5 separate regions of the Homo sapiens genome follow, and all the other regions are linked to region 5. The links are contacts of gene promoters, found by promoter capture Hi-C in human tissues and cell types (Jung and others, 2019). All regions are on one chromosome and are shown on one strand. Each heading gives the region's core, a stretch centred on a gene start or on the middle of the fragment in contact. The rest is flanking DNA. Distances are from core to core; before and after follow the strand shown. Region 1 overlaps RASGRF2 (Ras protein specific guanine nucleotide releasing factor 2). Region 2 overlaps RASGRF2 (Ras protein specific guanine nucleotide releasing factor 2). Region 3 overlaps MSH3 (mutS homolog 3). Region 4 overlaps RASGRF2 (Ras protein specific guanine nucleotide releasing factor 2). Region 5 holds the start of RASGRF2 (Ras protein specific guanine nucleotide releasing factor 2).

Region 1 (5,706 bases), core at 1,191-3,690, 160 kb after region 5:
CTGACTTTGGTTCCAAGCTCCTCTGCTGGCACAGTAAAGACAGGAATATAATCAATTATTGTGATTCATATTGAAGGCTAGGAATAGATTGGTTGTGCGGGCACATGCTTGCTAGTTCTTGAGACTGAGAACAATTTATCCTGTGGATCCCTGCGAAGGAAACACTCTGGGTAGAAAGTTTAGAATTAAGGCTCGGGTTGAGGTAGCTCTTTGGCATTTTTCTGAATAAGTGAAACAAATTACAGACTCAGTTGTAGGGTTTTTTGTTTTTGTTTTTGTTTTTTTGTATTGGTGTATGGGCAATACTGGTCGTGAATAGTTTTAGGAAAGTCATGGATGAACACTACTTCAGCATGAGTCTGAAAGTTGTGTGTGTGTGTGTGTGATGTCTGTAAGAGCCAAAAGTGCTGCTGTGTGAACCCTGCTGTCTAGTCTTAAAAATTTGAGTTGACAAAGAAAAAGGAGACATTGATCCATCTTTAATTTGAAAGATGTTTGCGTGTATCACATAATGTTAACACTTAAAACAGTTGGCAAACTTGAATATGAATCCCGTGCCAAGAACTTACACATTTTCTGCTTTTCACTTAAGAATACAACCCCACACCACCTCATTGTATAATATCAGTTTTGCCAATTAGGTCCCTATTGATGCCATACGTCTCCCTCACTGCCATCCAGCTATTCATTTCAGGGCATGTTTTTTGAAAAGTGCTAGTGACCTTTGTCCATTTTTATTGTCATTGCAATGATAATGCCAGCCTTGCAAAATTTTCTGGCAGGAGAACGTCAAACAATGTGAGGAGAAAGAAGCGAAATAGGAAATATCCTTTAAAATGAGTGAGGCAATGAACTTAGGGAAAAAATAATTCAATTTAATTTCCCTCCAACTCATTCCTCACGTCTGTTCCAGACTCATCCAACATTCACTAATACCCTCTCTTCTCATTACCAGTCAGTTTCTATCTTCTTCAACCCCAGGTGCTTCTACAAAACACAAATATCAGCCAGACTCAGATATCCAGATTCCACCCAGTGATGGGTTCTCAACAAAAACCAAACCAACAGCAGGCAAGAAAGGCAAGCCAAAGGGTCGCTCACTGTATTCAGACCCCATTACTCCCTCAGTGTTCACTTAGACCATGGCCGTGCAACTTAGCCACCTGTGTTGCTGCACAGCCCACAGCACTAGTGTCTGTTTCTGTGTTCTTAGTTTGAAAATTGCCTGCCTGTGGGCTGAAAGTGCTCCCGATTTTAGCATTTGTTTTGAGCCACATCTGCCCACTCGTCCTGCAGGCAAAGCTGTTTGCAAGGAGCCTGATCAAAAGTGAATATGCCAGAAGGAATTCTCCCCTCAGCCCCCAGTGCTGGCATGGTTTCTTCTCTCTGTAGGTGCCTGTTAGCTTACAGGATTCTTCTTTGCTTTCCTGTTCTTTCAGAACAGTCAGGGTCCATCCAGCTTTTCTCATTGGGAAATTTCCTGGGTTCAATGTAATTGCTGTCTAATGATTTTCTCATTTTCCTGAGATGACTGAATGGTTGAATCAGACCAAGGACATGTATTTGATATTCTGCTCGTTCTTACAGAGCAGATGCCTTCCATTACTGAATTTTGGGGCAGTTATTTAGAAAATAATAAAACCGACAGCTAAGCACTGATTTTTTTTGTCTGCATCTTGCATCGTTGCCAGCTTTACTGTAATTATGTCATTCAGAGAAAGATTCTAACCATTTCCTTTTCCTGGCCCCTTTGTGTTTCAAAAAAGCAAAATTGTGGCCATATTTCTAAGCGGATAAGTCACATGCAAGTATAAAAATGGCCTTAGATGAAGTCATTAGAGATTTTTGAAAGTTTGTTGAGTGAAATCTTGAATGGAATGGCAAAGCAAAGTAGTTCTGCTGACAGGATTAATGTACAATTAGTGGAGGTGACACTAAGCTGTTATCAATGGGAATTAATGAAAAGCCCAAGAAGAATGGAAGAATCGTTGGAAATGTATTACATTTTTGTGGTATTTTTCTCTGAAAGAACATACACAAAGTTGTAGTCTTACCTGCTTAATAAATCAGTGGGAGGGGCATAGAAACATCATTAGTAATGGCCTAAGGGTGACCCTAAAATGATGTGTGTGTTATTCTTGGGATGTTAGCTGCAGCAAAGAAGCTCAAATGACCTTAAACCCTCCCAATGGTTCATTTAAAAGATTTTCACGTGTTTCCTGCTGATCTGTAGCTCTAGCTCAGAGATACCCAGTAGAATTTTCTGGGAGGATAGAAATACTGTATATCTGGGCTGTTCAATACCATAGCCACTAGCCACATGTGGCTGCTGAGCACTCAATGTAGTGCAAGTGGGAAGCCAAAATAATAATTTAACTTTAGTTAATGTAAATTTACATAGCCACGTTTGGGTAGTGCTGTCATTTTGGACAACATAGCTTTAGATCTCTGGGAGACCCAGAGATCCCTGGTGAGGGCCACATTATAGAGATTCAAACTTTGGTTGGTTTAGGGGGCAACACAGGCAAAGAACTGGTGAAGTTCCGATTTGTAATCCCAATCTGATTTTTGACCTGACAAAGTTATCTTTCCCCACTCAGAGAAAGCAAAAACATTTGGAAGGGCAGGGGATCCACCACATACCCCCGTTTACTTTAACATCTGCTGCTGCATTTGACAGAAGGGGCTGGCCAGGGTCAGCTAGGGTCAGCCAGGCCCAACAGGGTCATCAAGACAGGGTTAGAGAAGATCCTTTTTTAGATTTAGTGTCATTAGTACTTGACTTGATTTCATATTAAAGCCCTTTAATGAAATGCTTATTATCTGTAATGAACTTTTGTTTCCATGCATGATACTGACAAGAAGCTCTTGAATTCATGGCCTGGTTGTTAAAATTCATGATGTTTTCAAGCAGCAGTCCTAGAGTCTGCACCAGCGGACCGAGCAGGAGTGGAAAGCTCCCCTGCAGCGGACACCACAGAACTTTCACCTTGCAGATCCCCCTCAACTCCTCGGCACCTCCGCTATCGACAGCCTGGAGGTAAGAGCTCAAGAGGGACTCAGAAATAGAAACGTGAAAAATGATTTCTAGCTTCTGAACCTTTCCTTTGCCTAATTGTTTCACTGCCAAAATAATTTTTTTAGTCTCACTTATTGAAAATTAATTGGAAGCAAATACAGTCGGCCCTTTGTATCTGTGGGTTCCACATCCATGGGTTTCATATCTGTGGATTCAACCAATCACCCATCAAAAATATTTGGCAGAAGAATAAAGCTTCTGTACTGACCATGTACATACTTTTTTTCTTGTCATTATTCCCTAAACATTATAGTATGACAGCTATTTACATAGCATTTCCATTGTGTTAGTTATTATAAATAATCTACAGGTGGTTTAAAATATACAGGAAAATATGCATAGATTATATTCAAATACTACACGATTTTATATCAGGGACTTAAGCATCTGTGGATTTTGGTACCTGAGGGAGATCCTAAAACCAATACCCTACAGGAAACAAGGGATGACTGTAATGTTACTGTAGGACCAAGTGGTGGAAAAATAAATGATTAGAGAAGATGTCATTAGTCTAACCAACATTTGTTTAGTTCCATCATTGCATTGCATTTTGTGAGGAGTAACGTGAATCAAAAGGCTCTTTCTTTAGATGTTAGCTAGCTGAAGAATCTCAGTGCTGGGTTTACCAAAATGTTCCCAGTCTCTGATATATTACCATGAGTCCCAATGTAGTCTGTATAAGTGGACTCCTCTGGGCATCACAATCTGGGGAGACCCTATTAATAATATTATTTCATCTAAAATAAGGTCCAGGTACATGGGACCCCAGTCATCATTATTGCTAGTGGCAGAAACTGGCATATGTATTTTGATATATAGTTAAGAAAATTGTAAAGCATTACTCCATAATTTGTTTGGGAACATAATAAATGTCCTCTAATTGGAGAAAAAAAACTAATCAGAACAAAAGGTAGAAATATTTTAATTATCTCCCATTTTCCCCACTGCTCAAATAAATATATCCAAATAACAGTTGTTTTGAAATGTTTGCTTTTCTCTTCTTAAGCCAATTATTTCAAGTCAGAACAGAAAATTACACAATTATGAAACCGGATTCACCCCAAGTAACCCAAATGAAAAGGCTTTTTTTTTTGGTTTGGAGACAGAGTCTCACTCTGTTACCCAGGCTGGAGTACAGTGGTGCAATCTCGGCTCAGTGCAACCTCCACCTCCCAGGTTCAAGTGATTCTCCTGCCTCAGCCTCCCGAGTAGCCAGGATTACAGCCGTGGGCCACCACGCCCAGCAGTTTTTATATTTTTAGTAGAGACGGGTTTTCACTTTGTCGGCAAGGCTGGTCTCAAACTCCTGACCTCAGGTGATTCACCCTCCTCAGCCTCTCAAAGTGTTGAGATTACAGGAATAAGCCACTGCGCCCAGCCTATAAAGGCATTTTTGACTCTCATAGGCATGCTTCAAATAGGGCATTTTAGCAAAAGGTAAAGTATATGGCTCCAAATGGTTATCGGTGGCCTTAGCAGCTTGGTAGAAGCTGTTGTCATTGCCATGAGCTCTGAGAGCAACTAGGAAGGTCTCAGTCTGGCTGTTGTTAGATGTCTGCCTTTGTGGATATTAGCCCTTGGGGCTTTAAGGCTCCAAGTCAGTTATGGGTTATCCTGCCATTTGGGTGTTTCTGGTAAATGAAGGTGACAAATTAGACTTTCCTGGCTTGTCATAGTACTACTATGGAATTAGCCAGATCTCTCTATTCTTCTTAGAGCTTTGGTCAGTCCAGGTCTTGGCAACTTCCTTGACCATTGCCACATAGGACAGATCCCTTTGACTTCATTGTAACCTGGAAGAGTTTGGGACCAAAATCTATGGAAGTAAGGCTCTACCAAGGCAAGAGTTAAATGCTGTTCAAGGCGTTACAATTATTAGAACTCTACTTTATATTCTCTTTTCATATGTTTATATTCACATATAAAATTTTTAATTCACATAAGGATTATTTGGAAATCCTCATCTTGTTTGTGGATTAACTAAGCCAAATCCTTTGTTTCTTCCCTGATATAACTAAATCATAGAGACATAGAAACATGGGAAGGAGGCTGAAACCTGTGATAATATGGAGGAACTGAACAAGGACAGCATCACATATTTCTATCTAGCTGAAATTTTGCCTGTGCATCTGTCTACTTGCCACCTTGTTCCAAAATGCAATAAGTCTGTTGTGGAAAGAGAAGGTAGAGCTGTTTTATGCGTTTGTGCTTGGGCACATTAAGCAGCTCTTTGCTTCCCCTCTTAACGTGTGTATTTATTTTAGGCATGATTGTGAAACATTAGGGCCAAGCTAATAAAAGCCCTTCAGGTCAGAATCACAGTGGACTGTTTTCACTAAAAGCCTGAGCGAGGAGAAGCAGCGAGCTTGGCACCAGCACTGCCAAACGCTGTGTGTACAGTCCGAGGAGTGAAAGGGACTGCAAGGTTGCTCAATACATCCTTTCGATTTTAAAAGGGCCACACTTAAACCATCTGTACTGTTAAGGGTGTTCTGAGAAGGAAATTCTGTCAGAGGGAAATTCTATCAGTAACATGATATGGTATCTTTTTTAAGAATATTTTTATATTAAGATACAGTTTACATACCATAAAATTCACCTTTTTAAAGTATATAGTTCAGTCTTTT
Region 2 (6,100 bases), core at 2,831-5,330, 180 kb after region 5:
CTTTCTTTCTTTCTTTCTTTTTTTTTTTTTTGAGACAGAGTCTCGGTGTGTCACCTCCACCTCCCGGATTCAAGCGATTTGCCCACCTCAGTCTTCCAGATAGCTAGGATTACAGGCAGCTGCCACCACACACACTAAAATAACTTTTCGTATTTTTAGTAAAGACAGGGTTTCACCATATTGGCCAGGCTGTTCTTTCTTGCTTTATTGCACCGACTAGACAAAAATTAATTTTTATAAGCCTATGTTTTGAATTGCAAGCGCTTCTTTGAAGTCCTTGTCAAGCAGGGGAACTATACACTGGTGATGATATAGTTGGTGCTCATATTTTACAGTAATAAATATAATGATATAAACATACAATCAGCTCACAAAAGGCGCCTATCAAAATAATCCCACAAAGCTCTTTCCGTACACATCCCATTGGAATTCAGACTTTTTTTATTTTTTGAGAGATAGAGTCTTGCTCTGTCACCCAGGCTGTCATGGAGTACAGTGACACAATCATGGCTCACTGCAGCCTTGAACTCCTGGGCTCAGGTGATCCTTCCTCCTAAGCCTCCTGAGTAGCTGGTACTATAGTTATGCACCACTAAATCTGGCTAATTTTTTTTAGGTTTCGTAGAGATGAGGTCTCTCCACGTTGCCCAGGCTGGTCTCCAACCCCCGTCCTTAAGTGATCCTCCTGCCTCGGCCTCCCAAAGTGCTGGGATTACAAGTGTTAGCCACTGTGCCTGGCTGGAACCTGACTTTGAAACTAGATTAGCTGTACCTTAATAGGCCTTGTTCAGAATCACTGGGTAATTCCCGAATAAAAGTATCCAAGGATACTTCTTTTCATCTACTTGTTCTTTCACACCATTCTTCAACAGATTCAGGACACCTTTTTGTTTTTTCCTACTGGAGGGTATCCTAGTTTGGGACATATTTTCTATTGTTTTTTTCCAAAATATATTAAAAATATTTAAACATTATTTCACTAAAGACCAGTACTTTAACAATGGTCCCAAGTCCTATTTTTAAACACACACACACACACACACACACAGACACACACATGCACACACGCACACTCACTCACATTTTGCTTGGAATTAGAATTGTGGAACTGCAAAGCTGCAGCTTTCACTGGTGTGAGTACACTCCTGAGCCTGCGAAGCAGCTAGAATGCTCATGGCAGGTGGGCTTTGCATTCTCTTCCTGGAAACATGCCACGCAGCAAGCTAGATCACAGAGATATCTTTGCTGTGCTTTCCAAGCAGACCCAAATCCTGTTCCAGCTGGCCTGTCCACCTTCTTCCCTGATGGTGCTGCACTGCCGAGTTCCTTTTCTTTGCACTTTCCCTTCCCAGGCTCCCTGCAGGCTGCTCTCTTCTATTACTGTCTCTTCTCAGCAAAGGTACAATGTAGTTGATTATGCCTCACATGGCTTAATTGCTGCTTGATTACATTACTGTTTCATCCATGTCAGGGCCAGGCAAGTAACCTAAGTAGGGATGGAGAGGTGCTGCCATGTTTGAAGGACACAGCCACTGCCCAGCCCCTGCAGATTGTTGCCATGAGGGGCTGCAGGACTAGGGCTGTCAGATGTGTTTTCTCTGGTTTTTTTTTTTCTAGCCAGAAATCTTGATATTTATGTGAAATTTTCTGTTTTGAAATGTTGGAAGTGAATTCACACTCTTTAAAAATACTGTCCAGGCCAAACACAATACTTTCATGGGCCACATTTGGCTGTGAGCCACCAGTGTGTGACCTCAGATTTACTGTAATCACTTCCAGCTGGAGTTGTAGGTTGATACAGCTAAGATTTCCAGAGACACTCCTAAATATTAGCAGTAAACTCCTGAATCTCTTCAGTGCCACTCCCATGTATCTTCTATTCCTTTTACTGGGTGATTTTACAGAGAGTTGATCTCTTCTCGGGCACTGTGCTTGACCACATTTGCTTTCAGAGGGTAATCTTATCTCAAAGGTCTGAGCCTCCCTCACTATGTCATCCCCTCACTATGGAAGGGGCACAGTGGGGACCGTCTCTCTTCATCTCACGTTATAGATTCTGAAGCAAGTGTGGCATCTGGAGTGGTGAAGGGTCTTGCCCAGGTTCTCATAGTTATTGAGAATGAGCCTCAGATCTCTCCACTGCTAAACTGCTGCTTTCTTTGCCCTGATATAGCCTCTAATCCATATTAACTTCAAAAACAGCAAGAGCTTGGGAAGCTTGAATTGCTTAATTTTGTTATTAACTCTTGCTTCTGCCTTTCTCTGCAGCACGTCCATTTCTTTCCGTCTTTTTCCCACCTCTGTATCCACCTAGCATTCCCCTAAGTGATAGACACAGCAGTTTGGGGACTCCAGAGAGATGAGCCTGGGGGAAATTAGTAGTCTGTGGATGGGTTCTTAGTTGACCAGCAGTTAGCATTGAAGGATCTGTGATTTCATTCACAGCATTGTGGAAATCAGGGCCTTAGTACAATGGTATGATCTGGTTAGAGGAAGCATGTATTTCTGTATTGAGAATTGGATTAAATTTGCAGTGAGATATTGATTACTGTGAATTAAGTTGATGTCACATATATACTCTGCTGTCTACAGTCTCAGGATTTGTGAGAACACTCAGCACTGTTTAAATAGCTTAACAGCATGCATAAACTTATAAGAAAGGCACAGAATCTGGGCTTTTTCCAGGGTCTAGATTACAAGCTAAAATGTAAAATTTGGGCAGGAATTACATATCAATTTTCTGTTTCAAAATCAGAAGCTTAATATCATGTAGGTGTTGTACTGCATTGATTTCCAATGGAGTGTAGATGGGGTAGAATAAGAACAGCCGGGGACTTCCTCAAAATATTCCTGTCCCGGTGGGGATTCTGAGTGGCCTCCCAGAGGCAAGCAGTCCAGAAGAGAGATGTTATTGATGGCAATGTGCTGCACGTGTGAATGGTGTGAAAACAGAAGGCTAAACATCACTGCTCTGCTATCTGCCAGCCCTAAAAAGAACTATGCTCACTTTCTGAATGCAATTCTCTATCTTCTGGTTAGTCAGAGGATGATGGGAAGCAGGCTGCCTGTGTAACCTGTTTTAGCAATGACATTCAGAAGTCTAAGGTCAAAATGTTGGCTGCATGCAATGTTTCTTATATGGGGCCCTCACCATCTTTTCATTTTGGTGTAGCCCACCCTTGCCTTATTTCTTATTCATCTCCTCTTTTTCTGTATCATGCTGTCTTTTTACCTTGCTAGGTTCTCACCTTTTGGAATTCTGCTCCTATTTCATGGAGATACATCCTCTTGCTAGGACAGGCTATGTGCTTTGCAGCACCCAGTGTGAAATGAAAATGCAAGTGTCCCTGTTGAAAAAATTATTAAGAATTTCAAGAATTCTTATTAAGAATTATTAAGAATTTCAATTAAGATGCAGGGCATCTAACCAAGCATGAGACCTTCTAAGCATGGGCGGTGTGTGACACAGGCTGTACACCAAGAAACTGGCCCTGCCTCTTGCAGTCTTGTCAGGAGTCCAGCAGTCTCTTAATGCATCCAACTGGGTCCTGTAGTAAATTGCTCTCAGGATGTGGCCTCCAGTGCATTTCTAGGATTATATCTTGGTTCTGTAGAAGTTTTCTGTGGTGAAAAATATATTCGTAGTATCCCTTTATTTTAAAGACGAAAAAATCTTAGGCTGGGAAAGACCAATTAGAAAGACAAAAGCTATCTGAACATAGGACTTCTGATTCTTTGAAGAAAATACACATTTTTTATTTTTTATTTTTATTTTTTTGAGATGGAGTCTCACTCTGTCGCACAGGCTAGAGTGCAGTGGCGCAATCTCCACTCACTGCAGCCTCTGCCTCCTGAGTCAGGCGATTCTCCTGACTCAGCCTCCCAAGTAGCTGGGATTACAGGCGCATGCTACCACGCCTGGCTAATTTTTATATTTTTAGTAGAGATGGGGTTACACCATGTTGGCCAGGCTGGTCTTGAGCTCCTGACCTCAGGTGATCCACCCACCTTGGCCTCCCAAAGTGCTGGGATTACAGGTATGAGCCAACACACCTGGCCTGAAAAAAAATACAAATTTTTTAATAATAACATACAATGAAATACTTTTAACAATGCAGGAATGCTGAAAATAATCTCTGATGAGTCAGAAAGACTCTCACTATCTAATGATGATTCAGAGTAAGCATAAAAACAAAAATTATCATCATATAAGATTAAAAAGGGCAGGCACGGTGGTGCACGCCTATAATCCCAGCACTTTGGGAGGCCGAGGCGGGCGGATCATGAAGTCAGGAGTTTGAGACCAGCCTGGCCAACATGGTGAAATCCCATCTCTACTAAAAATACAAAAATTAGCCGGACGTGGTGGTGCACACCTGTAATCCTAGCTACTCAGGAGGCTGAGGCAGGAGAATTGCTTGAACCTGGGAGGCAGAGGTTGCAATGAGCTGAGATAGTGCCACTGTATTCCAGCCTGGGCGACAGAGTGAAAATGTCTCAGAAAAAAAAAAAAAAAGACTAAAAAAATTCTGTTTCCTGGACTTTTTGGTTATTTGAATCTTTATAATAAAGGCAATAGGGCAAATAAACAGTGGTGGTCATGTCAGTATTATGCAAAGCTGAAAATTATTATGCAGGAAAGTTAGAAATAGTAGACAGCCTCAAAAATATACAATGAAAAGTGGAATTTCTCAATGAACTTTTTTGGGAGAAATAACCAATGATAATGTTGTGATTATGTAAAATTTCATCAGCCTCATACATTAAAAGGATGTGACAAGCTTTTAGTTAAAAAAATTTTCAAACTGTTATGTCAAAGATTAAATGTGGTAGTCAAAGTAATCTATGGAAACATACTGCTTTTATATGCTTGGTGGTGGAAGTCAGCACAAGTAAACCAAACATTAAAACTTCTAAGGTCTATGGTAAGGGAGGAAGGGGCTTTCAATCTGCCAGGAGAATATCCCCTTAGACTGTAGGTCCTGTGTGTGTTCCTTATTTATGCACCAGCTGTGATTAGTACAGGTTGTGCCCTTGCCGGCACTTACAGCCTATGGCTTCACAAGTGCTGGGAAGACATAAGGCGATAACTTGATAACATGTAGTTAGCCTTTTTAATTGATTGTAAATACATAGCAGTTATGGGTCATTTTTATAGAGGTGAAGCTCCCAAAGCTTCACCTACATCTTGCAAACCATTCTCCTATGCTGCCCAGATGGGCATTTCTGTATATAAATTGAGTGGTTGCACTTATTATCAACATAGCAATGACAACAGTGATTTAGAGTTATACACTTCAATAGGCATACAATATACTGAGCAATGGTCCAAGTTTTACATATGTTAACTTATTGTGAAGTAGTTAATATTACTATACTCAGGTTCCAGCAGAGGATACAGAGAGTTAAGTAAATCACCTAAGGTCACTTAGGTCACACAGGGAGTAAGTAGCAGATTTGAATCCTGTCATCTGGCTCTTCTAACCACCACCCTACTCTGCTTGAATTTCATCAGTACTTTATTGCCTTGGCCCAATGCACACTTGATGTTTAAAAAATAAGGGAAGAATGCCAGACTCAGTGGCTCACGCCTGTAATCCCAGCACTTTGGGAGGCTGAGGCAGCGGGAGGATCACCTGAGGTCAGGAATTCCAGACCAGCTTGACCAACATGGAGAAACCCAGTCTCTACTAAAAATAGAAAATTAGCTGGGTGTGGTGGCATACATCTGTAATCCCAGCTACTTAGGAGAATTGCTTGAACCTGGGAGGTGGAGGTTGCAGTAAGCCTAGATCATGCCATTGCACTCCAGCCTGGGCAACAAGAGTGAAACTCTGTCTCAAAAAATGAAAAATAAAAAAAATAAGTGAAGAAGGGGCCCACAGTCTAACCTGTCACCACCCTAACCTCTGCCTTATACATATAAGGCATAGCTGGAACCTTGTTATTTGGGTTTCTGTAGTGCTGCCATTTTGTTTAGGAAGGACATGAACCTTTCTCTTGCATGGTCTGGTGGTTTTAAAAATATACCACAAATTCTTTTCTACTTCTCCGTTCAAGAAATGGTGCTAAATTTCCCTTCTCTTTAGTGTGGGCTGGA
Region 3 (6,017 bases), core at 729-3,228, 130 kb before region 5:
GTTTGTTCTCATGCTTAAAATAGATTAGAATAAGAAATGTTCATTTGATGATATTTCTATATATTCTCCAAAATTGCTCATAAGAACATTTTCATTTTTATTACTTAATGTCCTTCACATGAAGTGCCATCTGGTAAATTATTTTTTTGTTAATGCTAGGGACATTTTTTCTCTCCATGTGCATACTGTGCCTGTTTACAAAAAGATTTGAAGCAATTTATTGGCCTTTTCTGACAAACTGCCAGGCTTCCTGCTATCAGCCAGTGGCTGCTTCCTCTTTAATTCCTTTTTGTCTTGGCTGCCAAGACAGCAAGAGCTAAACTCAAGGCTCAGGTGTGGAAACAAATTTGGCTTAGTTTTCCCCTTCGCTTCTTTTATGGGAGTATTTCTCTAGTGTCATTCTTAGAACAGCTGCATCAGAATCTTGGCGGTGCTAGTTAAAAATGCTACTTACTAAGCCCTTTCACACATCTTTTTAATTGGAATCTCCAAGGTGGTACACAAGAATTAGCATTTTAAAAGCTCATGCTAAGCTTAAATGTAAGAATCTACTGTATGGCTTGTAATCTTAGTTTCATGTAATTGTTTCATTAGAATATGTTATTGTAAATCACTTCAAATGCTTTTTGTACTCAATGGAAAAAATATTAAAATCTAGCAGAATGAGATATTTGCATAAGATTTAGCTCCAAGCTGTATCTGTAAATAGATTCTATTATCAATTGGCCATTTAGAACACTAGGTTTAAATCTGTGGATTCCATAAATATTCATTGAGTGCCCACTATGTGCTATACAGTGTGCAAGAAGAAGAAGTAAATGGATGAAACGCTATAAACAGACAGGAGGTTAGGAATTTTTTTTTTTTTTTTTGAGATGGAGTTTTACTCTTGTTGCCCAGGCTGGAGTGCAGTGGCATAATCTTGGCTCACTGCAACCTCTACCTCCTGGGTTCAAGCGATTCTCCTGCCTCAGCCTCCCAAGTAGTTGGGATTACAGGCATGTGCCACCACGCCCAGCTAATTTTTGTATTTTTAGTAGAGACGGAGTTTCACCACATTGGGCAAGCTGGTCTCGAACTCCTAACCTCAGGTAATCCACCTGCCTCGGCCTCCAGAAGTGCTAGGATTACAGGTGTGAGCCACCGCGCCCGGCCTCCAGAATCTTTTATCTGAATACTATAACCTCACATGAATCTTTTCCTGAATAAGAAGCAGATTTTTTTAAAAAGTAGAGTTTTGGCAAACACATACATTTGTTTCTAATGGATATATCTGTGCATTATGATATGTGTACTCATCGATGAAATATTTCTAGACCCATATTTCCAAGGATCATTAACATCCTTGAATGCATCACTGAGATAAGATCTGTTTATTATCTTGATGAATATAAACTTAAATCTCATCTAGCCTTTTAGACTCAGTAATTAAGTTTTAGAAAAGCAATGAATTATTAAGTCTCATTAGAAAACAGTTTGAAAAAAGCAAAACAATTGGCCTCTTCTCTCAGCATAATTTATTTCTATTAAACGTTGGTGATTAAGCGTTGATGAAAAGAGATATTTACTCGATGTGGCCCATAGCTAACAATTTTCATGCCATGCTACTTACACAAACTCCCTCTTCTGACACCCAGCTTCAGGGAATTCTGTGTACTCAGAGTGGCACGAGTGTGTTTTTCTTGAAAGAGAATTGGAAGATAATAGACATTCAAGTACTTAGTAACTTATTTGTTTGCCCAACTTAGTGTAATTCAGAAAATATTGAGCACTGACTGTGGAGTATTTGTACTCTATACAAAATATATTCTTTATGGACAGAAAGAAAACATCTTGAATCAGTCCACACCTTCTAATTAGTTGTAAATACCAGTACTAAAATCCACATGATAAGTGAGCACTAAATGAGTAAGTTGTTATGATTTTATTGGCATTAAAAATGTCATCTTATCAATATCTCTGTGCTTTCTTTAACTGTGTCTAGCAAACACTAGTTATCTTATTTCATCTTTTTCATGGGAAATTATTTTATGAATTTAAGGCTTGTTCCTTTAATTAGCTTCCTCAAAGTCACCTGAAGGTTTGGTTTGATTTGGTTTTAAATGCAAATCCCAGGCAAATCTTCTGATTGAAGATCCCCTGGAGATAGATACTGTTGTAGTAGGTATGATGAAGGAGGCCTTTAGACACTATTTTTTTAAAAAAGACTTTAATTTTTCAGAGCAGTTTTAGGCTTACACCAAAACTGAGAGGAAGGTATAGAGAGTGTCCATCTACACTTACCACTGCCCCTGCACAGCCTCCCCCATTTTCAGCATCCCCCACCAGAGTACTCCCTTTCTTACAATTGATGAACCTACATTGGCACATCATTACCACCCAAAGTCCATAGTTTACATGAGGGCTCATTGGGTAATTGATAAACAAAGTAAATTTATTACAGTTCTGTAGACTGGGAAGTCCGAGGTCAAGGGGCTACATCTGGTATGGGCCTTCTTACTGCCTCATAAAATGGCAGAAGGCATCACATGGCAAGGGGGCTTACTAGAGAAAACCAAACTGGCTTTTACAACAGACCCACTCTAGTGAAAGTAACCCACTCCTATGATAACCCATTGATTCATTACCCCTTAATCCATTAATCCCCAAATGGATTAATCCATTCATAAGGGCAGAGCCCTGATGACCCAGTCACCTCTTAAAGGCCCCACTTAATACTGTTACATTGGGAATTCAATTTCAATGTGAGTTTTAGAGGGGACAAACATTCAAACCACAGCATTCTGCCCCTGGCCCCCACAAATTCTATGTCCTTCTCATATACAAATACATTCATTCCATGTTTATAGCCCCAAAGTCTAGAGTCTCATCGAATCAGATGTGAGTAATGCTCAAAGGACAATTCATCTTGAGGTAAATTTCTTACAGCTGTGAGCCTGTGAAATGAACGTGTTACCTACTTCCAAAATAAATGGTGGGACAGGTGTAAGACATTCTCATTTCATAAGGGAGAGATAGGCAAGAAGAAAGGGGTAACAGGTCCCAAATAAGTCCAACACCCAAAGGAAAAACTAAGCCTTGAGGCTCCAGAGTAATCTTCCTTGGTTCCATGTCTTGCTTCCTAGATACACCAGTGTGAGGATTGGATCCCAGGGCCTCAGGCAGCCCCACCACCTAGGCTTTCCTGGGCTCTCCCAGGCTTCAGTTCTCACAAGTAACAGTCAAGTGCCTGCAGCTTTCCCAGGCTGGAGCTGAATGCTGGCAGTTCTACAGTTCTGAGATCTCAGCGAGGTTCTGTTCTCTCTGCTCCACTAGACATTACCCCACTTGGGGTTGTCTGTCCTGGCTCTGGCTCTGACCCCACATTTTTGCTTGGCATTAATCCACGAATGGATTAATTCATTTATGAGGGCAGAGCCCTCATCACCCAATCACCTCTTAAATGCCCCACCTCTTAGTACTGTTACATTGGAGATTAAGTTTCAACTTGAATTTCAGAAGGGTCAAAATTTGAACCAAAGTACTGTTTATTTCCTTTTCCTGTCTTATTGCATTAACTAGTACTTCCACTGCAGTGTTGAAAAGGAGTGGTAAGAGGTGACAGCTTCCTATTTTGGCTGATCCTAGTTGGAAAAGCTTCAAGTTTCTCACCATTAAGTATGATGTTAGCTATAGGTTTTTTTGTGAATATTCCTTATCAAGTTGAGGAAGTTCTCCTCTATTCTTAATTTACTGAGAGTTTTTATCATGAATGGGTGTCGGATTTTATCAAATGCTTTCTATGCGTCTGTTGATATGATCATGTGATTTTTCTTCTTTAGCCAGTTGATGTGATGGATTATGTTAACTGGTGATCAAATGTTCACCCAGTCTTGCACACTTAGGATGAGTCCTACTTAGTTATGGTCTGTTTTTCTTTTTATACATTGTTGGATTCATTTTGCTAATATTTTATTGAGGATTTTTGCATCTATGTTCATGAGAGATATTGGCCTGTAGTTTTCTTATAATGCCTTTGTCCGGTTTTGGTATTAAGGTAATGCTGGCCTTATAGAATGTGTCAGGAAGTATTCCCTCTGCTTCTATTGTCTGAAACAGATTATAGAGAATTGGTCTAATTTCTTCCTTAAATGTTTGATAGAATTCACCAGTGAAGCCATTTGTGCCTGGTGTTTTCTATTTTAGAAGGTTAATACTTATTGATTCAATTTCTTTAATAGATACAGGCCTATTCAGATTGTCCCTGTCTTTTTGTGGGAGTTTTGACAGATTGTATCTTTCAAGGAATCAGTCTGTTTTATCTAGGATATGAAATTTATGGCCATAACACTTTACAGTATTCCTTTATTATCTTTTTAATGCCCATGAGATCTGTGGTGATGTCTCCTCTTCTATTTTTAATATTAGTAATTTGTATCCTCTCTCTTTTTTTCTTAGCCAAGCTAGAAATTATTAATTTTCTTGATCTTTTCAAAGAATTAGCTTTTGGTGTTGTTGATTTTTCTCTATTGATTTTCTATTTCCAATTTCACTGATTTCTGCTGTAATCTCATCATTTATTGTCTTCTGCCTACTTCAGATTTAATTTACTTTCCTGTTTCTGGTTTGCCCTTGAACTCTTATTTTTAAGAATCTCTACAAGTGACTCTGATGCACAAATTTAGGAGCCATTGTTTGCATTTTAATTTCTAACATTTTATAGGAAGAAAAACAGGATCAGAGAGAGATTTTGTTTTGCATGAGGTTATAATGTGTGCAGTTTATAAGGATGCAGCCTCTGGTTATATTGGGTTCCCCTGTATTCATCTTATTGATTTATCTGATTAATTTTATCCATGATGACAGATTAATCTTCCTTTGACAACCTTAATTATGTGTAGTTTTCCTAGCTATAGTTAACATTGAGTGAAATCATTTGCTCTGTTAATTATTTTTCTTTGCAGTTCTTGGGACTTTCCCACAAAGTGGACTACTAGCTATGTTAGAGGATGAGTTGCCCAGTCAGCACAGTGTGGATTTTCTTTGAAGGAAAATACCTGTGTCCTTCGTAAGTGTCCTACACATGCTTTATAGACAGGGCCAGGGAACACTGTCATGTGAGCCTGTAGAAATTTAGAATTTTTCTGGATTGTTCTCTTGATTCTCATCAGTGTTTCCACGGAAATTGAAAGATTGCTACAGTGGGTTTTGCTTGATTATATGTGCAGTTTAGTATTATAACTTTTATAAATAAACTTTAAATACTGTAGTGTGATCTTATTGCAATCATTAGAAGGAAGGATTATATGAGAGAAACTTTTTTTTCTATTATAATACACATGCTTCTCAAGTTAAAATGGGACTATGCCCTGATAAACCCATCATAAGTCAGAAACATCATAAATCAAAAATGCACTTAATACTCCAGTAAGCTCGTTATAAAATTTTAAAATAATAAGTCAGGGATTGTCTGTAATTTTACTTATGCTAATAAATGTTTTTCATATTGCTAGAAGAAGGCTAGTTATTTCTGCCTTGTCTTAACAGAATGATACGATATAATTCTTAAATGTATCATTTGTGATTTTTAAAAATAACATTTGTTTTTCTAATTACACAAGTAATGCATGTTCATTATGCAAAATTTTAAACTCAAAATTTTTTAATCACTTGTAATTCCACCACCTGGAGATCATTGTTGTTTAGGTAGATGGCTTTCCAGGCTTTTTTAAAGTGCACATATGTAGTGGTAAATCATTTGTAATTTCATTCCATTTCTGAGTTATTGTTTATGTTTAATTAAATACAAGACAGATTTACTAATTCACGCTTTTTATGCCTTTTAAATACCATATGGTGCCTACATATCTTTTAGTAATTGGTATTCTCTTACAGTCTTTCCTCTACTTGGACTTTAGTTTTTTGGGGTGTTTTTCTTCCTTATACCATCCTTCTTAAAAGTTAGAGTACTTTGTTAGTTAGGAGATTAGCTATCTTTTGTAAAATGTATGTAATATCCAAAAAAAAAAAAAACAAGC
Region 4 (5,570 bases), core at 2,179-4,678, 230 kb after region 5:
CGCGTAGACAGACGCTGGGTGAAAAAGACCACTGGCAGCCCAGGGCCTGGGGGAGTTGAAAATGACTCACAGGAGGACAGACATTGCCAGGGTCAGGGGAGCTGGCCATAAGTCTCCCACAGAGAGGTCTCCAAAATCTCACCAAAGTGCCCCACACAGGAAAAGCTGGCCACTGCCCACCTGCCACATCTAGAGAGAGCCAGGGCTGGGCTCCCCTTACACTATCATACTAAATTATTGCTTTCCCCTGGACCTGAGGTACAGGATCAGAAGCAATAGCCAGCTAGTAGAGAGGTGGTGGAGACAGCAGAAAGGGCCTCCTGTGCAGGCCACTAGGATGGAAGCAGCCCACGCCAGGGCTAGAGGGAGGCTGGACTGAAGTTTTGAAGAATATACTGAACTGGACATTTTGACTGTTGAAATGACACCATTCTTATAAGCAAAAAGTACTGAAAGACATTGGTGCCTGCCCAGAACTCCATGTCAGGTGGGGAAGGATAGGCTATCAACTGGTTTACTGGGACTGGCAAGAAGCAGTAATGCCATTTGATGATTCCGTTATTACTTATGATACAGGGAGTCTAGGGTCCCTTGGGAGAGCAATTTCACAAAATCTATCAAAATAGCTCAGCTGTTATATTTCTAACTCACTCCAGTTCTCTTACATTCATTTTATGGTGAACAAAGAGACACATTTTTAGCTAATAATGAATAACTTGAGTTTACATTTCAGTTAACATGCTTTTTGGCATTTTTATTGAAATATCACATACCGCATATAAAGGGCAATAAACTTCAGTGTGTAGGTCAGTGACTTTCTGCCTCTGTATACGCCCATGTAACTGCCACCCAGGTCAAGATCTGGGACATTTCCAGCACCTGAGAGGGGCCTCCAAGTCTCTGCCCCTCTTCCTGTTACCCCATGCTCTATTAGTTTTAGTATTGTTCCCATTGACATTATGAGCTTTTTATATATTCAGGACAAAATCCTTTATCTGTCAAATGATATTCGTTTCTCTCAATTTGTTCTTTTACATTTAGCATTGCTTATGGTATGTTTTACATATATGCACCCTTTTCCCATTATAAGAGGGTTTTATATATACTCTATCCTATAAACACAGACACACACACGCGCACACACACAAAACAGAGTCCTTTTCACTCTTTCATTAAAATATATGTTCCCTAACACTGTCATAACACAATTAACAAATAAATATAGTCTGAGGTAGAAGACAGGAATTAGCGGATCTCACAACCACACTCTAGTCACTCATAGCAGCTGAGGTGAGAATTTTTACGTCTCCAAAAATCACAGTAGGAGTTAAATTCAGTCCTCATGTGTCTTTGTAGCAGAGATCTCAGAGCTGGGGGTACTTCGAATCCTGTTGGAGGTGTGAAGTTAGGGTGATCTTGATGGAAATCCCTGCTCTGGCATTTACTGGCTGTGTCTGAGCAAACTATTTAGCTCCTCCAGGCCTCCATTTCTTCATCTGTAAAAATGGGGATTAATGCCACTTTTTCCTCTGTGGGAGGGTGAGGATTATGTGAGTTAAAACATACAGAGTAGCCATTACAGATGGAGGCTCAAAGCACTGCAGATGCTGCTCTTGATAGAGATAACCTTGTGAAAGCGGCATCTGGTCCAAACCCAGACCTTCAAGCAGGCCAAATGCTGTTACCCCCGTTTGACCAGTGAACCACCTAAGTCTCAAAGGGGTTTAGTCAGCATCGCCCAGGTAAACTTGCTGTGATGGTGGAAATGTTCTATGTCATGGTGCCCAGTACAGTAGCCTCTAGCCACATGCAGCTAATTGATCACTTGGAATGTAGCTAGCATGGCTAAAAAGCTGGAGTTTTAATGTTATTGAATGGAATTAAATGTTAATAGTCCCACGTGACTAATGGTTACAGTATAAACAGCACAGTTCTAGACCACTCAAAGGTACCATAGGGAAACAGACCCAGCTGTCAAAATTCCTTCCAGTCTCCCACAGTGCCTCATTCCTCTGAAACAAGAACCCGACCGGGTGGTCTCCACGATGGCTCCAGCAATAAGCCTGCTGAAGGGGGCACACCTATATTAGGTTTGTGGAGAGGAAAACAAAACCTTTATGTAACCTCAGAGTCACTGTTATCTCAGAGAAGACCATGGCTCTTTCCCAGTAAAGGAACCAACCAATGAGCATCCGTCTGCTCCACAGAATTTAGGTTTTGGGGCTGCAGTCCCAGATCTGAGGTAAAGTGGGGACATGCCCTCTGACTTATTAAGGTGGAAAAGTGTGTGACGGTGTGATGGCCTCTACTTAGTGTGCTCAAGGTCTCAGGGATCAGATTTTCCCAGAATGTGAGTGGACATAGTTCATCTCTTCCGTTTCTTATTTTGACAGATGACAGGGGCGGCTTCTAAATTTTTTTGTTGACTATTTGGCATTGCCTAGTGAAACACAAAATTCAGTGTTGAATTAGAGCACTGAGTTCAGGTTTGTTCATTGTTCTTGTTCATTGTTCCAAATCTGAAATGGAGGTTGGGCTAGGACAAACACAGCACAGAATTTTCGGTGTGGGCAGGAGAATGAAAAGTGAAAGAAACAACCAGCTATTGAGCAGGCAGCTGCTGTCACCTCTCCTGACGTTCCTGGCCTGCTGCTGTCACCTCTCCTGACGGCTCCTGGCCTGCTTCCAGCCCTGCCCTCCTCATCCATCCGGGCTCGTGTCAGTTGGCCACAGGGTACTTTTCTGTCACACTCCTGGCCTGGTCTCTGCCCCTTAAAGAGCGGATCTTCTCTTCCATTTGCAAGGCAATCTCAGCATATGGGGGCCTGACCTTTGAGATCTTTATAGGAGAAAGATGCCTCTCTGCTGTGAATAGGGCTTTTGTCCCCACTTCCTGAAGAAGTTCAAGACTTTAAAAGCCCCTTTCCCTAAGCCTTCACCATGGCTGGATGAGACTTCCAGTGCAGAAGTGTGTCACTAGGACTCTGAGCAAGGAGGACGAACCATTGAATTGCATAGAAGTCATCTAGGAGCAGCCTGAAGTTTGGTATCGGTTTAGTTATGATATGGGGCACATGGTCTTTTATGGGTGACTTGAGAACCTGATTCTTAGAATGAAGGTAGGTAGCTTCCTCTGTGAAGATGGATTCTGAATGACAGAAACCCAATTTAAAAAAAAATACTGTATCACTTACTTTATATCAGACACTGTTTCAAGTTGTTTTCAAATATTAAGTCACTTACTGTGACTCCACTCGTTTGAGGGAGAGGAGGTCGATGTTGTTATTACCACTGCTTTACAGATGGGGAAATGGAAGCTCAGACTGAACCATTTCCCTGAGGTTCCACCGATAGCAAATGGCAGCAGCAGGTTTCAGTCCCCGCCGTCTGGCTGCACAGTTTTTGCCGGGAACCCCCAATCTTGCAGCCTCTCCATCTTGCAGGCCAACTGTTGAGATGCAGACCGCTCAAAATGTGAAACATAAAAACCCGCTTCTGACTCAGGACAGTGAGAATAGCACATGTCAACACTGCCAATGCTTTCCCTGTTTCTCAATCTTTCCTTAGGAAAGTTACTTTTGACCCTGAGTCTATTTTGTGTTGCTCAAAGGATTTGTACTTGCTAAAGGCTGGTGCAGGGAGGAGTGCTGTGCCCCTGCTGACAACCACTGCACCTCCCAGGCTGAGATGGTGACAGCAGACGCCCCGGCCAGCCTCCCCAGGCCACCTGCCTGCAGGAAGTACAGTCAGAGCTGCCCGCGGTGAAGGGCCAGGAAACCCCCGCTGTTCTTGAAGCCTCAAGACCCCAGATATCCCACCTTGACAAGTGGGTGAGATGCTGCCCACTGCTCAGGCACCACAGAGTGCCACGAGGCTCCTGGGCATGTCCCCAGCTGGTAGGACTGATGGGGATACCAGGAATAAGAAGATAAAATTTGGTCTCAATGTGAAATGCTAGCAGCTATGAGATGTTTTTAAATGACTAATGAGTTGTCTGCTGCTTCAGCCTTGCAAATGGTGTTTTATGTTTTTTTTGTTGTTTCTGTGTGTGTTTCTTTTTTTTTTTTTTAAGAGATGGGGTCTTGTTCTGTCACCCAGGCTGGGGGGCAGTGGTGCGATCGTAGCTCACTATAGCCTTGACCTACCCCTTGCCTCAAGTGATCCTTCCACCTCCGCCTCCCAAAGTGCTGGGATTACGGGCATGAGCCACTGTGCCTAGCCACAGATAATTTTATACAATCACCATGTCAGAGGATAATCGATGGCCTATATACTTTTTTTTTTTTTTTTTCAGAGACAGAGTCTCGCTCTGTCTCCATGCTGGAGTTCAGTGGTGCAATCTTGGCTCACTGCAACCTACACCTCCCAGGTTCAAGCAATTCTCCTGCCTCAGCCTCCCAAGTAGCTGGGATTACAGGCATGCGCCACCACACCAAGCTAATTTTTTTGTATTTTTAGTGGAAACGGGGTTTCACCATATTGACGAGGCTGGTCTCGAACTCCTGACCTTGTGATCCACCCGCCTCAACTTTCCAAAGTGCTGGGATTACAGGCGTGAGCCACTACGCCCGACACACTTTTATGTCAGTCTCACCCTTTTATTATTTATCAGCACCCATTCACTTCTAGCTGTCGACACTGTCAGCCTCTGCGTATCTCAGCTAAGAGATCCCAAACATCCACCAGGCACACACCAGTGTTTGTTCACAAACAGATTCCCCATGACAGCCGCCCAAATGAAATAGAGAATGCTCCGTTTAATTTAAATAGGCCAGCAACTTCAGTTCCTTTTGGCCCCTTCTGATTTCCTGGACACATAGGCTGACCCTTATCTTTACGGCAGTGCTGGGTCCTGCTGTAATCTTTTACTGACCGCTGCCCTCTCCTTCTCCCCTCAGAACAGATGCCTTAGGCGTCACATTTCACTTCAGTTCTTCAGAGGTTCCTGGGTCAAAAAGGTCTCAGATGAGGAGAGAAACCTGGAAACTTGCACACTAGTTTGGATTCCATTGTTAGCTTGCTAGTTTCCACATTTGTAAAATTGGCAAAATTATCTGTGTGAAGTTATAATGCACAAATGAATTATTTGTCATATCTCTCTGGAAAATATGAAATGTAAGAAACTATTATCTGATAAGTATGGATTTTCTTTTCTTTTTTTTAATTCCAAAGATAGATTTTTATTCTTTTTCTCTGGTCCAGGCAAACAACCAACCAAGTAAGAAAATCCTAGTTCCTTGAACTATTTACCAAAGTTTTTTCTTATTTTTATACATCCCTATTGTTATCCTTTAAACTCTCCTTACAGTGAGACATTTACAGCAGGATTTATTAAGCTAGCATAAGCTAGATTTAAGCTTTTAGGAAGTGTGCCTTCAATGGCACTGATTTTCCGTTTTCATTAGCTGCCGAAACAGAAACATTTTCCCCATTGAACTAGTGGGATTCCTTAACCTTTTGTGGATGGATTTCGTTGATGGAATTTTATGTACTTCGATAGCTTCTTATCTCTGTTGTAAGAGTTTTCTGATGCAAGTGCCATGGAGAGCCCTTATTTTTCCTAATTTGTC
Region 5 (5,650 bases), core at 537-3,036:
AGAACAATGCAAACTTCCAGCTGGGTTAAACCCAATTTAGCACAGCACTGTCCTTTAGATATTTTTAAAAACGTAAAGAGAAATGACCACTGTTCTCACGCTGTAATTTCAAAATGGCAATTTCCCTACTATATACTTGTTAAAAGTGAAAATTTTTTAAAAAGGTAAAAGGAAAAAAAAACCCCACTCAGCTGCTCAGTGAGGCAGAGTTAAAATATTCTGCAGAAACAGCACTTATGAAACAGGCAGAACCCCTGGGGCTACCAATTCATGAACACACAACTGGCAGTACAAGACAGGTGTATTGTCGTAGACTCATCACCCAGAAAAGCATTATTATTTACTTTTAACAATAAACATTTTATGATGGCACTCCGTTTTAGTGATAAATGACTGGGGAAAATAAAAAATGTGTATAGCAGAATCAAATATAGGCCCTCCCCGGGGGTTTCACTGGCTTTCTCTCACAGCTGCTGGCTACATTATTTCTTTTCCACTTACATTTTTACAGCATGGGGTTGGGGCGGGGGGGTGGCTCTTGGTTTTCTGGTTGTACCTGTCAGATTTGTTAATCAAATGAATCCAGTCCTACAAACGATGAGCCTGTGACAGCTGGCCTTTGGGGTTGGATTCTGCCCTGGGCAGCAAAGTGTCCCTTATTTGGGTATTTTTTTCCAGGTTGAAAACTCGGCACTTAAAATTTAGCATCTTACCACTGTGAAATAACAGGCATTCCGAAAGAACTTCGGCATCTGATGCCTTTCCGGGAACACTTGGGCCACTCTCCTTAACCTTTACCGGCAGTTTTAAATACTACAATGCAGGTACAAGCAGAAAAGCCAAGGATGCGGGCTATGCAAAGCCACTCTGTGACTCTACCTACTGCCATGGGAACGTACTTATGGATGTGGCATGTGAGTGTGTGTGTATGTGTGAGTGGGTTTGTGAAAGTGTGTGGATTCGTGCGAATACGTGTGTGAGTGCTTTGTGTGTATTTTTGGATGAATTTGTGAATGTACATGTGTGTTCATCTGTGTGTGTGTTTGATTATCTGCTTATGAGTCTGTATGATTGTGAACGTGTGAGTATATGTGTGCTGTTTGTGTGACTGTATGAGTGTAATGTGTGTATGAATGTATGTTTGAATGTGGGTTTGAGTGAATGTGTGGGTTGTGTGTGAATGTGTGTGTAAGTGAGCATATCACTGCGTGCATGTGTGTAGCTCCTTAAGTGTGTATCTGAATGTGGGTTTTATTTTTGTGCGCGGGAACGCACATTGTGGGTGTATTTGTCTATATGCATTTGTGCGTTGTGACTGTGTGTTGAGTGTGAGCGTTGTGAGAATGTGTATTTGTGTGTCATGAGTGTGTGCGCGTGTGTTTTTGTGCATATGTGCGCGCATTGTGTTTGTGTGCATTTGTGAGTGTATTTTTGTGCGTCTGAGTGTGTGCATTGTGGATCTGGGTGAATGTACTGGTCTGCGTGTGTGTGGGTGTGCGTGTGTGTGTGCGCGCGTTGTGCGCGAGTGTGCGAGCGCGTGTGAGCGGGTGTGTGGTGCGGCCGGGCGCCTCCACCTCCCTGATCCGCCCCATCCCGGCGGGCGCCCGAGCAGAGGCAGCGGCCCGGGCCGGGGCGGGCGAGGGAGGGACGCGAGCCGGGGCAAGCGGGCTGCGCCACCGCCGGCGCCGCGCCGACTTTGCCCTTTAAATCGGTCTCCAAGCCGATTACAGCTGAGCTCCCACGTGACGTTTTACCTTCTGTCTCCCGGAGCGCGTTGCCCGAGGACAGTCCTTCCCCGGCTGCCGCCCCAGCCCGCCGCGGGGGCTCGGCTCCCGCAACTTTGGGCGAAGCGGCGGCCGGCTCGGGCGCCCTCGCGGGGCCGCGCTCCACGCGGGCGTTGGGGGCTTGGGGGGCTCCGGGGGCTCGGCCGGGAGGGTGGTGGTTAGGGCGGAGAGCGTGCCTCGGCCCCAGCCCGCGCCCCTGCCACCGCGCGCCGCGGCCTCCCGAAAGCGGGCGGGGTGCCCTGCGCGCGGCGTGGGGAAAGGGGGCGCCCTTCGCCGGCCGGGACCTGAGCGGTCGCGCCCTCGAGGGAGCCAGCTGGGCCATGGCCGCGAGGCAGGGGTGAGACCGGCGGCCACCCGTGAGCCCTCCGCACCCGCACCATGCAGAAGAGCGTGCGCTACAACGAGGGGCACGCCCTGTACCTGGCCTTTCTGGCGCGCAAGGAGGGCACCAAGCGCGGCTTCCTGAGTAAGAAGACGGCCGAGGCGAGCCGCTGGCACGAGAAGTGGTTCGCCCTCTACCAGAATGTGCTCTTCTACTTCGAGGGCGAGCAGAGCTGCCGCCCGGCGGGCATGTACCTCCTGGAGGGCTGCAGCTGCGAACGAACGCCCGCGCCACCCAGGGCCGGCGCCGGGCAGGGAGGCGTCCGAGACGCGCTGGACAAGCAGGTACCGCGCGCCTTCTCTCCGCGGTCTCCCAGCCTTGATCGCCGCACTCCCTTGCCGTCCTAATCCGGGGATCAGGGGTCGGGGGTCGTGAAAGAGTGCGGGGACTATGCTCCGAAATCCCCCCGCGTCACCAGTGGCGGGACATCTCCACGCTCCTTCCGATCTTCATCCAGGGATTCTCCCATCTCCATACCCCTCCACCCCACTGCCAAGTGATCAGTCAGAATAGTGGCCCGACTTGCTTTCATTACCCTGGTAGAGGTCGAGTCGTTTCAGCTTCTCTGCCAACCATCTATTGCTTCTCTAGACCTGGCTCGCCAGATTTTTGTCTGGTGACATGTATTGACACCTGTTGGGTGTAGATTGGCAAGACGGAACTAACTTATTTGGAAAAGTTTGATTTCTGCCATACCCGGCTGGCGCGTGTAGATTTCTTTGCCTGCAGATGTTTGACCACTGGTTGGGCTGGGAACAAGCGGGGCTCCCAAGCCGGACAGACACTTTCTGTTGGTCATTTTCAATCAGTCTTTGTGATTTCGGTCAGTTGGCCTTGCTAACATTTGACCTGCTGGGTGTAATTATGAAGGTAAATGTGTATTCATATTCCTCAGGATTAATATTTGGTAGCCACATTCTTGCTATGTTTAAAAATGTGGGCATTTTTAAAGAACGCTTCTGTACTTTTAAATGAATGCTTTGAAAATGAATGCGACCTTTTAATTCTGGGTCATAATTTTATTAGTTTTGCTGTGTGCTCATGGTCGCGGGGTGGGGGAGAAAAACCCTTTAAGTCTTAGTGATCCCAGCCCCTCATTCCTGCAAACACAAAGTTTGTATGTTTCCAATCACCGTTTGGTTATTAAAGTTAAAGCAGACTAATTTTATGCCCCTAATGTTCTCATTTAGCTTCTCAATCCCCACCTTGATATGAAAAAGGCTGATTGTTTTTGCTGTTGCGTAAAAATATTCGCAGCTGAATTTTCCATGTGAGTTCAGATCAGACAGCATCTACCGCACACCACAGAGGCTGTGGGAGGTGCTAGCAATGGAGTGATCCGTAAGATGCCTACCTAACCCTTTGGGGCTCATAAAACAATGTGTAAAATTAAGAGGAGTTAAAACTAGACCGACCGGAAGTTTGAGTTGTTTTCACTATAAATCATTAACAGACTTAAGTGATTAAACTTGTTATAACACTTATAAATCTGAAAGTTTAAATATGCTCTTTAGTTTCTGAGGGCTTGTTCAGAGTCATTTGAAAAACTGATTTCCAACTTTATAGATATAGATACTAGAAATATAAACATAAATTTCAAGTCATGCATTTTAGAATTTAAATTGGGAGAAGAGTTTTGAGGAAACATTTTTTTTCAGGAATATATATAAGTAACATTCTATTGGTGGGATTTTTTTTAAGGTATGTGTTCCAAGGCCCCGCAGGAACCAAAATGAATAGGTTTCTAAATGTTATTATGTCTAAAGTAGAATAGGGTATTTTAAATTACTCAGGATATATATCATTTACTTAATCTCAAATTATTTGTTTTCTTCATATTTATATTAATATAAGATAACCACTTTTGATTTTTTTTTTTTCAGTTAGGGGTGGGGAGTTGTTACCTGTTACAATTCATATGGCTCTCTGACTTGCTAATGTTATATGGAAACCAACATTTTTCTACTTGGAAAATATCTGGACTGTAATCTTCAAGACTGTTTTCTTTCTTGCACTTTAATAAGGAAACATAACTTCCAAATAGTTTGACTTTCATGCCACTTTCTAATGGTTGTCCTAAATAGGCCATCTAATGAAAAAATTGTTTTCCCTTTTTATGACCATGCAAATGATGAGTATTTCTCAGTCATTTTATTCATCTTCAAGAGGTTAGAAATTAGAATCTTTGGTGTTTGTAGATAAATCTGAGATGTAGAGAAGCAAGCATTCCAGAATGGATTAGGAGTTGGGCTGGGAAACCTTCCACATTTTGTCTTGCATTAGATGTGCTGCTGTGAGTTGGGTTAGCTTAGCCCACTGATGCTTTTCTCTGGCACTGCCAACTGGGTGTGTTTGAATAATTAAGAAGAAACTGTGAAAATAAGAAACAAGGAGAAACATTCTACCTTAAATCTACAGTTTATCCAGTTGGTTACCTCTCAGCTAATTTATGTTGCTGAGGTGCTTAGATCATCCAGACACTGAGACACGAAGGATCTGTGGAGGATGTGAGGAGATGAGCACATCCCAAGGTTTGCTTCTTTCTCCTTATATGCTTCTGGAGCTTTCCATATCAATATCTCCCTCAACACTATCAACACAGTTGAAGGTTAGGGCTTGAAACAGGACTTAGTGAGGCAGAGTCATTTTTCTTCACCAAGTTTCCGTGTTATTTCTTTAAGCACATCTCTTAATCTTTTCTCTTTTTTTCTGTTAATGAAATCTCTGTTTCCTAATATGTAAAAATTAAGAATTTGGCTAAGTTGGTTTCCAATTACCTTTCAATAATGGCATCTTCTATTTCTAAGGTTATGACAGACAGGGTGAGCTTTTTGCAGTGTGGAGAATGTGAAAGACCATTTCACAAGATTCAGAGATTACCAGTGTTTGTAATAAATACTGCATCTGAAAAGCCGAGGACAAGCAGGTGATTGAAGTGGACATTCTGATAAATTAGTTAGGTCAGCAGATGTGCAAACCTATAGTAACATCATTGCCTGAGGCAGAGACATTCTTATTACTCACATTGGAGGGCGACATATTTATTGTAATCCCCTTGACAGTTACAATAGTTGATGTAATTATTGCTATAAACTGCCTCTAAGCATTCTTGGGAGCTTAAAGTCCACATATCCTTCAATGATTTTTATGCTTATTAGTTGTGTTTTTAGGTAAGTTACAAGAAGAAAACACCCATTGGTTTGCTTCCTGTAAATAACAATTCAAAATAAGTTGGTTGACAACAACAAAAAAATCCGTTTTTTTTTTTTTTTTACACTTGGACTTAAATTGTTTCCAGTTAAGCAGAAAAAAGAAAGTCACTTTCCAAATATGCTTAGATTGTAGGAATATTTGCATTGCTCTATTTTTTTCATAGTGTTCTCAGATTTCACTTTGATGAGTCTTTGGAGGATTGCAAGGCTCTCTTATCAGCCTTCCATAGTGACTACTTCTTTGGGATAGCAATGGTGATATAATCAAAATG

The links. Contacts are between HindIII fragments. The study calls those that stand out against the background at their distance.
Region 1: a contact is called between a fragment that was not itself captured here and the fragment with the promoter of RASGRF2 in region 5, in 1 of the 25 tissues and cell types used here (hippocampus).
Region 2: a fragment that was not itself captured here is called in contact with the fragment with the promoter of RASGRF2 in region 5 in 2 of the 25 tissues and cell types used here (aorta and dorsolateral prefrontal cortex).
Region 3: a fragment that was not itself captured here is called in contact with the fragment with the promoter of RASGRF2 in region 5 in 3 of the 25 tissues and cell types used here (heart left ventricle, hippocampus and thymus).
Region 4: a contact is called between a fragment that was not itself captured here and the fragment with the promoter of RASGRF2 in region 5, in 2 of the 25 tissues and cell types used here (dorsolateral prefrontal cortex and hippocampus).

What each region holds. Positions count from the first base shown.
Region 1 is chr5:81,120,728-81,126,433 of GRCh38, forward strand. It overlaps RASGRF2 (Ras protein specific guanine nucleotide releasing factor 2), which reads left to right. Exons shown (of 27, transcript NM_006909.3): 16 at 2,915-3,040. Among named protein-coding and RNA genes, the nearest start is that of CKMT2, 110 kb to the right of the region's middle. The HindIII fragment of the contact is 6,979 bases long and covers 1-5,706 here.
Region 2 is chr5:81,139,389-81,145,488 of GRCh38, forward strand. The region is part of intron 17 of RASGRF2 (Ras protein specific guanine nucleotide releasing factor 2); the gene reads left to right. Among named protein-coding and RNA genes, the nearest start is that of CKMT2, 91 kb to the right of the region's middle. The HindIII fragment of the contact is 3,186 bases long and covers 2,488-5,673 here.
Region 3 is chr5:80,825,694-80,831,710 of GRCh38, forward strand. All of the region lies in intron 20 of MSH3 (mutS homolog 3), which reads left to right. Among named protein-coding and RNA genes, the nearest start is that of RASGRF2, 130 kb to the right of the region's middle. RefSeq lists a silencer at 194-394. The HindIII fragment of the contact is 5,695 bases long and covers 1-4,826 here.
Region 4 is chr5:81,185,438-81,191,007 of GRCh38, forward strand. The region is part of intron 18 of RASGRF2 (Ras protein specific guanine nucleotide releasing factor 2); the gene reads left to right. Among named protein-coding and RNA genes, the nearest start is that of CKMT2, 45 kb to the right of the region's middle. The HindIII fragment of the contact is 4,810 bases long and covers 1,024-5,570 here.
Region 5 is chr5:80,958,577-80,964,226 of GRCh38, forward strand. RASGRF2 (Ras protein specific guanine nucleotide releasing factor 2) reads left to right here and starts at 1,787. Exons shown (of 27, transcript NM_006909.3): 1 at 1,787-2,450. The coding sequence starts at 2,163. RASGRF2-AS1 (RASGRF2 antisense RNA 1) reads right to left here and starts at 2,331. Exons shown (of 4, transcript NR_105015.1): 1 at 2,205-2,331. RefSeq lists an enhancer at 1,890-2,611. The HindIII fragment of the contact is 17,436 bases long and covers 1-5,650 here.